Regions from separate parts of the Homo sapiens genome. Here region 1 is linked to region 2. The links are contacts of gene promoters, found by promoter capture Hi-C in blood cells and fetal thymus (Javierre and others, 2016). All regions are on one chromosome and are shown on one strand. Each heading gives the region's core, a stretch centred on a gene start or on the middle of the fragment in contact. The rest is flanking DNA. Distances are from core to core; before and after follow the strand shown. Region 1 overlaps ZFAND3 (zinc finger AN1-type containing 3). Region 2 holds the start of BTBD9 (BTB domain containing 9).

Evidence for each region. The method cuts DNA at HindIII sites, captures the fragments that hold promoters and counts their contacts. A CHiCAGO score of 5 or more calls a contact.
Region 1: a contact is called between a fragment that was not itself captured here and the fragment with the promoter of BTBD9 in region 2, in 2 of 17 cell types (naive B cells and M2 macrophages). The highest score is 5.4, in naive B cells.

The regions. Positions count from the first base shown.
Region 1 is chr6:38,031,381-38,036,784 of GRCh38, reverse strand. The region is part of intron 2 of ZFAND3 (zinc finger AN1-type containing 3); the gene reads right to left. Among named protein-coding and RNA genes, the nearest start is that of ZFAND3, 210 kb to the right of the region's middle. The HindIII fragment of the contact is 328 bases long and covers 2,546-2,873 here.
Region 2 is chr6:38,637,561-38,642,566 of GRCh38, reverse strand. It overlaps BTBD9 (BTB domain containing 9), which reads left to right and starts at 2,638. Exons shown (of 11, transcript NM_001099272.2): 1 at 2,638-2,767. It overlaps LOC105375044 (a long non-coding RNA gene), which reads right to left and starts at 2,172. Exons shown (of 3, transcript XR_926767.4): 1 at 2,083-2,172. RefSeq lists enhancers at 2,296-2,375, 2,176-2,676 and a silencer at 2,776-2,975. The HindIII fragment of the contact is 9,229 bases long and covers 1,595-5,006 here.

The sequences.
Region 1 (5,404 bases), core at 1,460-3,959, 610 kb after region 2:
TGAAAGAAAAAGATTTTTAATAAAAAATATATACTCATATATTTAGTATTTACATGTTAAAAACATGCTTGTCAAGTTAGTTTCTTAAGTCTCTATTTCTATGTGGATTATTTGTATAATCTCTTTATTGATAATCTCTACTTGATGAGTCTGTAATCATACCTCTTTTATATTTACTTATAATTACATTAATTTTGAAATGTATTTATAATTCGAAGTCTTGGTCTAAATCCAACATCTGGGCCCCCTCAAAGGCAATTTCTGTTTTCTGTTTTTATCCCCAGTAGGTGGTCACACTTTCTAGTTTTTCTGCATGAATTTCTGTTGAAAACTGGACATTTTAGATAATACAACCAAGTCTGGTTATGTACCCTCTATCCTCCTCTCCTATCCTATCCCTGTTCTGGTGTTGCTTGTTGTTTGTTTAGTGGCTTGGCTGGAATAATTCTGTGAAGCCTATTTACCCTGCAGTATGCAGCTTCTGATGTCCCTGCTCAGATTTTTTTCCTTGTTTTTATCTTTCAGCCTGGCTTCTTAGGGGTCACCCCTGGGTTCACATAAACTTCTTACTGGTCAAAGGTAGTGCTTAAGCTTCCTTAGCCAGTTAGATTTTCACCCTTTACTAATGAAAATATGTGGTGCTTGGAAACTGCTATCACATTTCAGGGAATATATTATTCTGTCCTGTCTTTAGCCAGGGAGAACAGACTCAAGAGTCTGGGAGAGAGGGGACCCTGAATTCTTGGCTGCACTCTCCTGGAGGAGACTTTCCATAACATGGAGCTGGGAGAGGTAATGGATGGAAGCTGGTTGTGGCTCAAATGCCACAAGGTCTCCAGTTCTTACTGAGATTTAGTAGACTTTATTGAAAGTATTTCTCCATTTGCTGTGTGCCCTTAGGACAATTTCCAGAGACTTTAAATGTTTTGCTTTAAATAATTTTAACTAAATGGCCTTTTCACCTAGAAGGTCAACCAAGCTCCACACACCAGCATTCTAGAAATTCCCACCCTAAACAATTTCTAGAAAATTAAAACATGGATATGAGATAGAATCTGCACCTTTCCTAGATTAGTGGTGTTTGCTGAGTTCTTGAATGACTCAATACTGCTTACACAACAGTTCATATTACAGAAAAAGAAAAGGCAGGAATTTGTATTAAGTACAATAAGAGAATTACATTAATGAGGATCTCCCATATGCTAATTAAGCAACCTAAGTTTACTATTTCGTCAGTGTCTAAATATAAACAATATTGATAACTCAGAACATGGGTACCTAAGAAAACAAATCACCCTCTCTCCCTTTTTGAGGATTATTTTTAAGACTTTCAAAGCTAAAATACACAATTATTATATATGTATTATCTTGGTTGCTTAGAAACCGTGAGACACGTCCTGAATAAGCAAAATTAGAGCAGCATAAGGAGGGAACCCTTTGTTAAAAAGAAGTTTAGAGAAAAATGCCTTGGCTATGATAATATATTTTGAAAATGAGACTGCAAAGTAAAGAAACATAATAGAAGATTCGGGATGTCACATGTGAAGATATTTTCTTAAGCAAAATACTTTTAAGTATTTCTTACTGCTCTCGAGTTACACACTTCAGCTATAGTTCACCAAGGAAAAAGAACTTTAATGCATGTATAAAACTTCCATAATCCCATGCATCAAAAAAGCCACCAAGAAAGAAAAGCAGGCCTATATTTATGAACCCCGAAAGCTCAACAGGAAATCAACTTTACACTAGGCCCAGGAAGTGTAAAAACTTAAATTTCCAGTAAACTGTGACTATTTAACAGCACAAATTAGAAGCAAGACAACCATCAACAATCCTATACATGTAATAGGAACCTTCTTATGTGCTGCTATTTCCATACTTAGAAAAAATAAAAATAAAAATAAAACCCTTTTTGGGAAGTGGTATGAGAACAATTGTATGTATCAAATTAAAAGTCAAATTTGAAGTATTAATCAAAAAGGCCTATGGGAAAATAAATACCATTCAATGAACAAGCTACAATTCCTGCTGAGGACTCAACTTAATTCCTCTTTTGTCTAGATCAACTTTTTAAAATGCCTAGAAGTCCCTATTTGGGGAGAAGATCCATTATCAGCTTTTGACAAAGAATCTTTTTTTCTTCCCCTTTTTAAAATATTAATTTTGAAGCCACACTGGAAAAAATGATCTTGTTTATTTTTAGTTACATTGGTCAAGAATCTTTCAAAAGATACTGCATATTTTTCAAGACAAGCCAGCAAACACATGATGTGCTCCCTCTGCTGGCTTTGCAGTAGTTCTTTCTTAGATGCTCCTTATATCTTGAACTGGAAATGCAAATACTTTTTTCCTAATAAAATAACTATCAAAGGGTGATACATCCCAGTATAATATATCAGGCGGCTTTTCAGTAAAGCAGGTTTAGCAACAGTATATTAGGCCAACCCCAATGGACTTTATCCTTTCTTATTCTGCATTATTTTCTTGCATTTTAACATCTCCATTTCTTGCATGGGTTGGAGTAGAGGTGGAGAAGGTAAAAGCTTCATACAAAGAGAAAAGGAAGAGACTAGTTTGCCCCACTAAATAAAAACACTGTAGATGCAATCTGGCACATTTAAGTTCACACAAAAGATGAAACTGAATGTAAAACATAATAGGCTTTTCTTAAAAAGCTGAGGAAATCACTGTTTAAGAAGCCCAACATTGTACTACCACTTTTTTTCAGATCCCTAAATGGACAAAAGGTTAGAAAATCAATGCACAAGCTAGAAAATATTTTTTCATTAGAAGTCTTTTTAAATTCTAGAATTTTAAGTCATTTGTAAAATAAAATTTATTTTGAAACAGTAAGTACCCTTTTAAACAAAGCTTTAACTCTGCTTGTTTAAATAAGCTATTAATTTTAATTATTTTGCCAAGTGCCATTAAATAAATGTCACAAGAGTTGTCATAGAGATACCCTGTGATTGACTGACTGACTGAGCTATCCCTGAAAGCTTTCAGAGAGAACATGAAAATCTACCTGCTTCTTGGCTATCAGTAAAACAAAAGATAGAAGGAGTTTCAATTCAAGGCACAGTTGCTAATTATGTAACAAGTACAGTCAATTATAGGCACTGACATAGAAAACTGTGGATTGGCATGTAAAATTCAGTACAAATAGAGAAATGAGTAAATGGAAAGGTGAATAATCTTTTCAGACACAGCTGAATTACTGCTTTAAACTACTAGCTGTCACACACATGCTGTTCTAATTACCTGGTTAAAGCAGCCTGCAGGCCATTCCTTGTGAACCCCTGTCTTAAAATGAGGTGACGAGGGGAAGGTTGCAATAAATATAAGTTCTATTAACTAGGTCAAACAAGTGGCTGGTGCAATGACATCAACTCTAGCTAGAGAAACATTTCAACTTGATTTACACAGAGAAAGGCAAAATTTCCTTTTTTAAAAAAATAATGAAGATTGGAAAAGCTGGATTAATATTTTCCAGCCTATTCCTGAATACAACATCCCTTCTCATTATAGATGAGAGTCTATATTATATGATGTTTAGTTTCTAGAGAGAGTAAACTAAATCCAACCCCTTTCTGATCTTCTTACAGGTCTAAATAAATTATTTCAAACAGCTCTCAGGAATTTAGCTCTTGGATAAGAGTTTACTTGCAGCCATTTTGGTTAATGTGTTTAAATTTTTCAGCTAGCAGGCTTCCATTTTTTTTCAGTAAGTTTCTCACTGCCTTCCTAAAGGATACAGCTTTAGCCCACAAAGTAACTATGACAGCCTTTGTATTAGCATTCCGGGGAGGCAATCAAGGCTTGGGTCTTATACAGAGTAGCAACATGGACTCTGCATAGTACATTCATACACACAAAACCAAAACTTATCTTTACATTTTAGTTCCTAGATTTGAATAAATAATAATAATTCAATTTCAAACACACCACTCAAATCAATGAAATGCTAATTATAAGCAAAGAAGTTTTCTACGTTCATGGTAAGATAAGACATGGCATCTACTGTGCAGGCACAACTTCAGCTAAATAAAGTTCAGGGACTCTTTTGTGCTTTGCTTGATCACCATTCCCCTCCACAGTTATTAGATAATCAACTCCTCCCAGCTGCTCTTAATGTTAGCTTTTAATAAAGAGATGAAGATATTTATCAAATGCCCTTTGAAAACAATTAGACCTCTACCTTTCCCAAGAGTTCTTCAGTACATTTTAAGTAAAGTAGGTGCTCAGAGTTTTATTCTCTTTTGGGTAATGAGGTCCATGTCTTCCTATAATCTGCTCTGACACTAAAGACACTTCCTATCACAGCTCCATGACCACTGAGCAGAGTTCAAATGACATTTCTGATACAACTTAACTGTCTCAAAGACTTGACAAAAATGTTCTCCACAAAATTATTTCTATTGGTGAAACTTTCAAACAACTGACATATTCAATGATAAAATAGTTAAATTATAATACGTCCTTTTAGCCTAGGATTATACCATTAAGAACATTTTCAAATATTATCTTTGCTATAAAATATAAATCTTGTAACTATTATATTGATTATATTACAGTAATCTATAATAGTATTACTAGCACTCTTATAGTAACATAGATAAATGCTCATAATACATTAAAAAATGCAGCATACAGGCCAGGCATGGTGGCTCACGCTTGTAATTCCAGAACTTTGGGAGGTTGAGGAGGGAGGATCACTTGAGCACAGGAGTTAGAGACCAGCCTGGGTAACATGACCCAGACCTCATCTATACTAAAAATCCAAAAATTAACTGGGCATGGTGCCATACCCCTGTAGTCCCAGCTACTTGGGAGGCTGAGGCGGGAAGATCACTTGGGTCCAGGAGATTGAGGCTGCAGTGAGCTATGATGACACCACTGCAAGGACCTGGGTGATACAGCAAGACCCTGGGACAGCGTGGGGCGGGGGGGGAGGGGCAGAATATGAAACTGTAAGTTGGAGTCTACATATGCATAACAAAGGAGATACATTAAAAGGTATTAAAATGGCTACGTGGGTACTCTACTGGGCAATTAAGTGTTATCTCAATTAACCAACAAAACTTTAAGGCGGTTATAATTATTAATATCTTCATTTACAATTGGAGAAGCTAAGGCTCCTAGAGGTTAAGAAATTTGCTCAGAATCACAAAGCTAGGAAGTGATAGAGTCAGGATACAAGTACTCAAGTCTACTGGACTCCAAAGTCTGAGAACTTTCCTCCAGCACGAAAGAAAGATGCCATAACTGAGACAGGCTTGCAAGTATATAATGAATTGAGGACAGGACTGAACATGCTAAAGGGAGTTTGTTGTTTCCCGAAGGGCAAAGTAAGAAAATGGCTGAGCATAGTGGGGTCACAGATAAAAGTTTAAGGCATAAAACA
Region 2 (5,006 bases), core at 1,389-3,888:
ATTCTTCCTCAGACTTCTTTTTGGGCTTCTGATCATCTGCACCTCCTTTTAAAGTTAGTGCTCTCCAGGGGCCCTATCCTTGCCTCTCCTTATTATGTCTTCTGTATTTTCTCCCTGATTGATCTCATCCATGCCTCGGGCTTAAATTACCAATTATTAATTTATTTCTTCCAAATCTATTTTAACTCAACCTCTTTCCTCATTCATAGACCTGTACAGTTTGAGTGTTTATTGGACATTTTTCTCTAGATGTGGAGGTTCCATCAGGTCACAGTCATATTGCTATAGTCTCTGAGGGGACCTACTGAATTGTACCCTTCTTTTCCAGGTAATGGAGAAAGCTGCAGGAAACCAACTATTATCTTTATTACTGACTGTATCAGTTTCCTATTGCTGTTGTAACAAGTTAGCACAAACTTGGTACCTTAAAACATACAAGTTTCTTATCTCGCAGTTCTAGAAGTCAGAAGTCCTAAAATCAAGGTGTTGGCAGGGCTGTGTTCTTAGGGTGCTAGAGAAGAATCCATTTCCTTGCCTTCTCCCGCATCTACAATTTGCTTGCGTTTCTTGGGTCCATCTTCAAAGCCAACAGTATAGCATCTTCAAATCTCTGTCTGACCTCTGCTTCCATCATCACATCTCCTTCTCTGACTCTGACCCTCCTGCCTCCAGCCCAGTCAGACAATCCAGGATAATCTCCCTAGATACATCATTTAATCATATCTGCAAAGTCCCTTTTGCCACATAATATAACATATTCATGGGTTCTGAGTATTAGGGTGTGGTCATCCTTTTTTTTTTGGTTGGGGGGGATCATTATTCTGTGTAACACAGCTGACAAAGCTGGTATTAAATATTATCTGTGGACAGACAGCTTCCTAATGCCAAACTCTGGAATTAAATACATATACTCTCTTTGTAGCCCTGGACTAGGCACCCTTGTCCCTACCCACAGGCCCTGCTCCAGAAGAAACGGAAAAGAACACCAGGACAGTTCCCTGAAGATAGTTATCTTTTAAGAGAAAAAGAATGGGATAGATGCCACATGTCCAGTTTCTCCCATTTAAGTTCACCAATCAGGAAGTCACTCCTCTAGGCAAGAGTGAGTTGCAGACAGGTATAAGAGAAACCAGGAGAGTATTACACTAATGGATATCATTCCATATGGAAGAAAGACATTGTGAATGGAGAGTAAATGTTTCCCTAACAAACATATCCATATTTGAACTCATCATCATACTCCACATATCTGGTCATCCTCCTAAGAAATGTCACCATCACTATCTATAATAGTAACTTAGACACTTGTGGATAATCAAGACTCATGTAGCTTGCCATCTTGCTAAATGTTACCACTGTCTACCTCAGCACTCATGCTAGAAACCTGGCCTACTCATTTATCCGCACTCAGTGCTGTGAATTCTACCACCTTAATGGCGCTAACATCTATCCCCTCCTCTATTCCCACTGCCAATGCCTTGTTTAATGTTCTTATCACTTGTCTGGAGTACTGCAATGGCCTAAAAATGGGTCTCCCTGCCCCAAGCCTTGCTTTTCCTGACCATTTTCACTTTCTACTTTTACTCATGAAGCTTCCTTTGCCCGGAATTAAGTCCTTCCCAATTTGTCTCCTCCAACAACTGCAAGGGCGGTCCCCTAGCTTGCTCCAGCGTCGGGGATAACTGACTTTCCTACACCAGCTACAGTCAGACCTGCACCCGGATTTCTAGGACTCTTATCTATGTAGATAGATAAATACATTTTTTTGAGACAGTGTCTTGCTCTCACTGCAGAGGCTGGAGTGCAGCGGCGCGATCACGGTTCACTGCAATCTTGAACTCCCCAGGTTCAAGCGATCCTCCCACCTCAGCCCCCCGAGCATTTGTGACTACAGGCGCGCGCCAACATGCCCATTTAGTTTTTGTCTTTTTTGTAGAGACGGGGTTTCACTATGTTACCCAGGCTGGTGTCGAACTCCTGAGCTCAAGCGATCCGCCCACCTCGGCCTCCCAAAGTGCTGGGATTACAGGCTTGAGCCACCAAGTCAAATGGGCTTTATACTTACAAAGTACCTTTGCATACCTTATTTCATTTTCACCTCACAATTCTCCAGCGTAGGCTGGACCGGTATTATTATGCCCATTTACTGAGAGAGGAAACTGAGAGTCAAGGCTGGGCCAGTCACACCCTGCTGCGAAATTAACGAGCATCACTTAGCAGCCTCGACATTAACCGCGCTCGCGCTCTCATCCCTTTCTGGTCCTACTCCTTGGAGAACCTTCCTGCACCTCCAAGAACTTGCCGATCGGGTCTGCGGCGGTCTGGACGAGGTCACTCCACAGGCGCCCAGGACCTTCTCATCCGTAGTGACGTGCGCCGGTGACGCCATACAGTGACGTGTGGTGACTCGACTTACCCGGAGCCAGGTGCCGGCAGGGCAGCCACACCCTGGGGCCCCCTGTTCTGGAGGGGCAGAGGGTCGGGCCGATGCGAAAAAGCCGCGGAAGCTGCCTTAGGCGACTTTCTGGGCCTGCATCGCCGGACCCAGCAGCCCGCTGTCGATCGGTTGCTAAGTGACGCCAGCGCGCAGTGGCGCGTGCGCGGCCACGGCGGAGTGCGTGAAAGCGGACGCGCGCCGCAGCAGCCGGGGCGGCGGCGAGGACGGCGGCCACGGAAGCGGCCAAGGGGGCGGTGGCGCAGAGAGGGGTGCGGAGCGGGCGGAAGAGGCGTCTGTGTCGCAGCTTGGTCTCAGAGGAGCATCGCTGGGGTGAGTAGCCGGGTCCTTGCAGGGGAGGTGGGGCCTGGCCGCACCTGCGGCGCGGGGACGCGCGCCCCCGCCGTATCCGCGCGCACCGCCCCCCGCCCCTCCGCCGCTTTTTCCGGGGGCGGGGGAGGAGCTGGGACGGGGCCTGACGAGGGTCATTTCTTGGGCCCGGGTGCTCTGGGAGAGCGGTAGCCGTCCCGTTCGCAGTCCACGAAGGTGTAGTGGGAAGTAGACGTTTCGGGGATTCGGGGTGGCTCTACCAGCCTCCCAAAGAGAGGAGTTCGAATCAGGGGCAGCCCAGGTTCCCTAGCAGTCTCGTATCCTGTCTGAGACGACGTTGCCTGGGACTGAGGAGGCGAAACCCGGGACCCCGGGGTGGGGGTTTGGAAAGTTTGGGACTGCTGGGGCCCTCATCTCCCCTGCCCTGGCCAGCCTCTGAGTAGGAGCTGGTTGTTATGGAGAGAGTTGTGAATCAGTGCCTGCGTGCGGCATCAGACACACCCACGACCTTGGGAGGGCGACCTGTCAGTATAGATCCGGGGCAGCCAACCTGTTGCCTAGAGTTTCTAACTTCACATGTATGTGCATGTGTTTCCTTGGCGTTTTAGTACATTGTTGTTACAGATTTTGAGACCAAGGTGCTGATAGGCATCCTCATTTCTTACTTCCTCATAGACTTAGTTATCTTGCTATATTTCCCAGAACCGTGTTGTGCTTTTGTCATTAGTAGATCCAAGGAAGTATGGAAGCATGTTTTGTTTGTTTTTCCTAAAGGCAGTACAGGCTGCTATTTTCTGGGCAGAAAATACGGATTCTGTTCACTGTGTGGGCGGAAAGTGTTGATGATGGGAGAACCCAGCATGTAAAGGTGTAGCTCATCCTCAGCCCTGTGCTGTCTTCTCAGTGCTCTGGACTCTATCATGGGTAGATGTATAGGGGTTGTGGTTACCATACTTGGGAGCGAGGAATATTGGAGACAGGGAAGAAGCCAGTCTTTTCTTTCTGTTGATTAAGGCAATTTGTAGAACCAGTGAAAAGATAGGCTGTACTGAAATCTAATGTTTTGTGTAAGAGGATAGAGGAAAATAAGTTCAAGGTTCTCATTTAGGTCTAAAATTCTATGATTCTGTTTCATAACTGAGAATCTGTAAAGTATGTTACCTCTTGGAACCAGTAATAACCTTGCTTTGTAACACTTATTAGATTACTCGGAATTCAAAGTGTCTTCCTCCCTCCACTGTAATAGCTTTTAGGACAGGAGTCATCTGTGTTTTCCTCCTTGCCCTATGTCTAACACATAGGAAAAATGTGCTTGCCACAGAGTAGGCATGCAATGGATATTTGTTATATAGCACACTATGCTCAAGTGGTGTATCTATGTATAGAAAGCATTGAGTTCAGTCCATCAAGTACTTAATACATGTGCCTCCCTCTGCCCAGTATCATGATAGGTGTGGGAGGAGGATTATGGAGTGAAAAATGACATAGAAGACCTGTCTTTTTTTTCCCTTTGAGAGCAGTAGTCTAGCTAGGAGATGTATAAAATAATTATAAAACCAAGTTAAGTAGCAGGTAACCAGTGCTGTTTGAGGACTATAAATGTGGTAGAAAATCAGAAAAGATAGGATGTGTAGGCTGAGTTAGGGAACTCTTTGAAAGAGGCAAGATTTGACTTGGTCTCTGAAAGAAGTTAAAATTTGTTAGGAAATAAACCAGGAGCTGAGAAAATAATAATGTGAATTTGGTTGTTGGAGGATATACCAAGACGACTTTTATGTCTGGTAACTGGAGCGGAACGTCTCTTATAGGGGAATACTGGAGAGAGATGGCTTAGCAGGTTGGGAAGGCAAAGTGTTAAGGATTAAGGCGGGCTTATCAGCATCCCACTGTTAACAAGATACAGCCTTCTTGTAAGGTGGGATAGAGGTTGTATTAATCAGAGTACAGTCTTTGACAAGAATAAGTGTTATCCTTACTTGAAAGTAAAGGATATTACGCTTGAACCAATATCAGGTTGTTAATATACTTTTGATTTCAATTACTAATTGGAATCGATGCCTCACTAATGTGCATGTATTTTAGGTAGTCAGTGGTGCATGTCTCATTATCTAAAATCTACCTGATGTACTTGGGCCATTGTATTGGAAATTTACTGAAATGATGTACCAATAGTCATCCAGTCACACTCAGTGACATAGTTTTGCTTGGGATTATCTCTCTGAGGTTTGTCTTTACTGCTGAT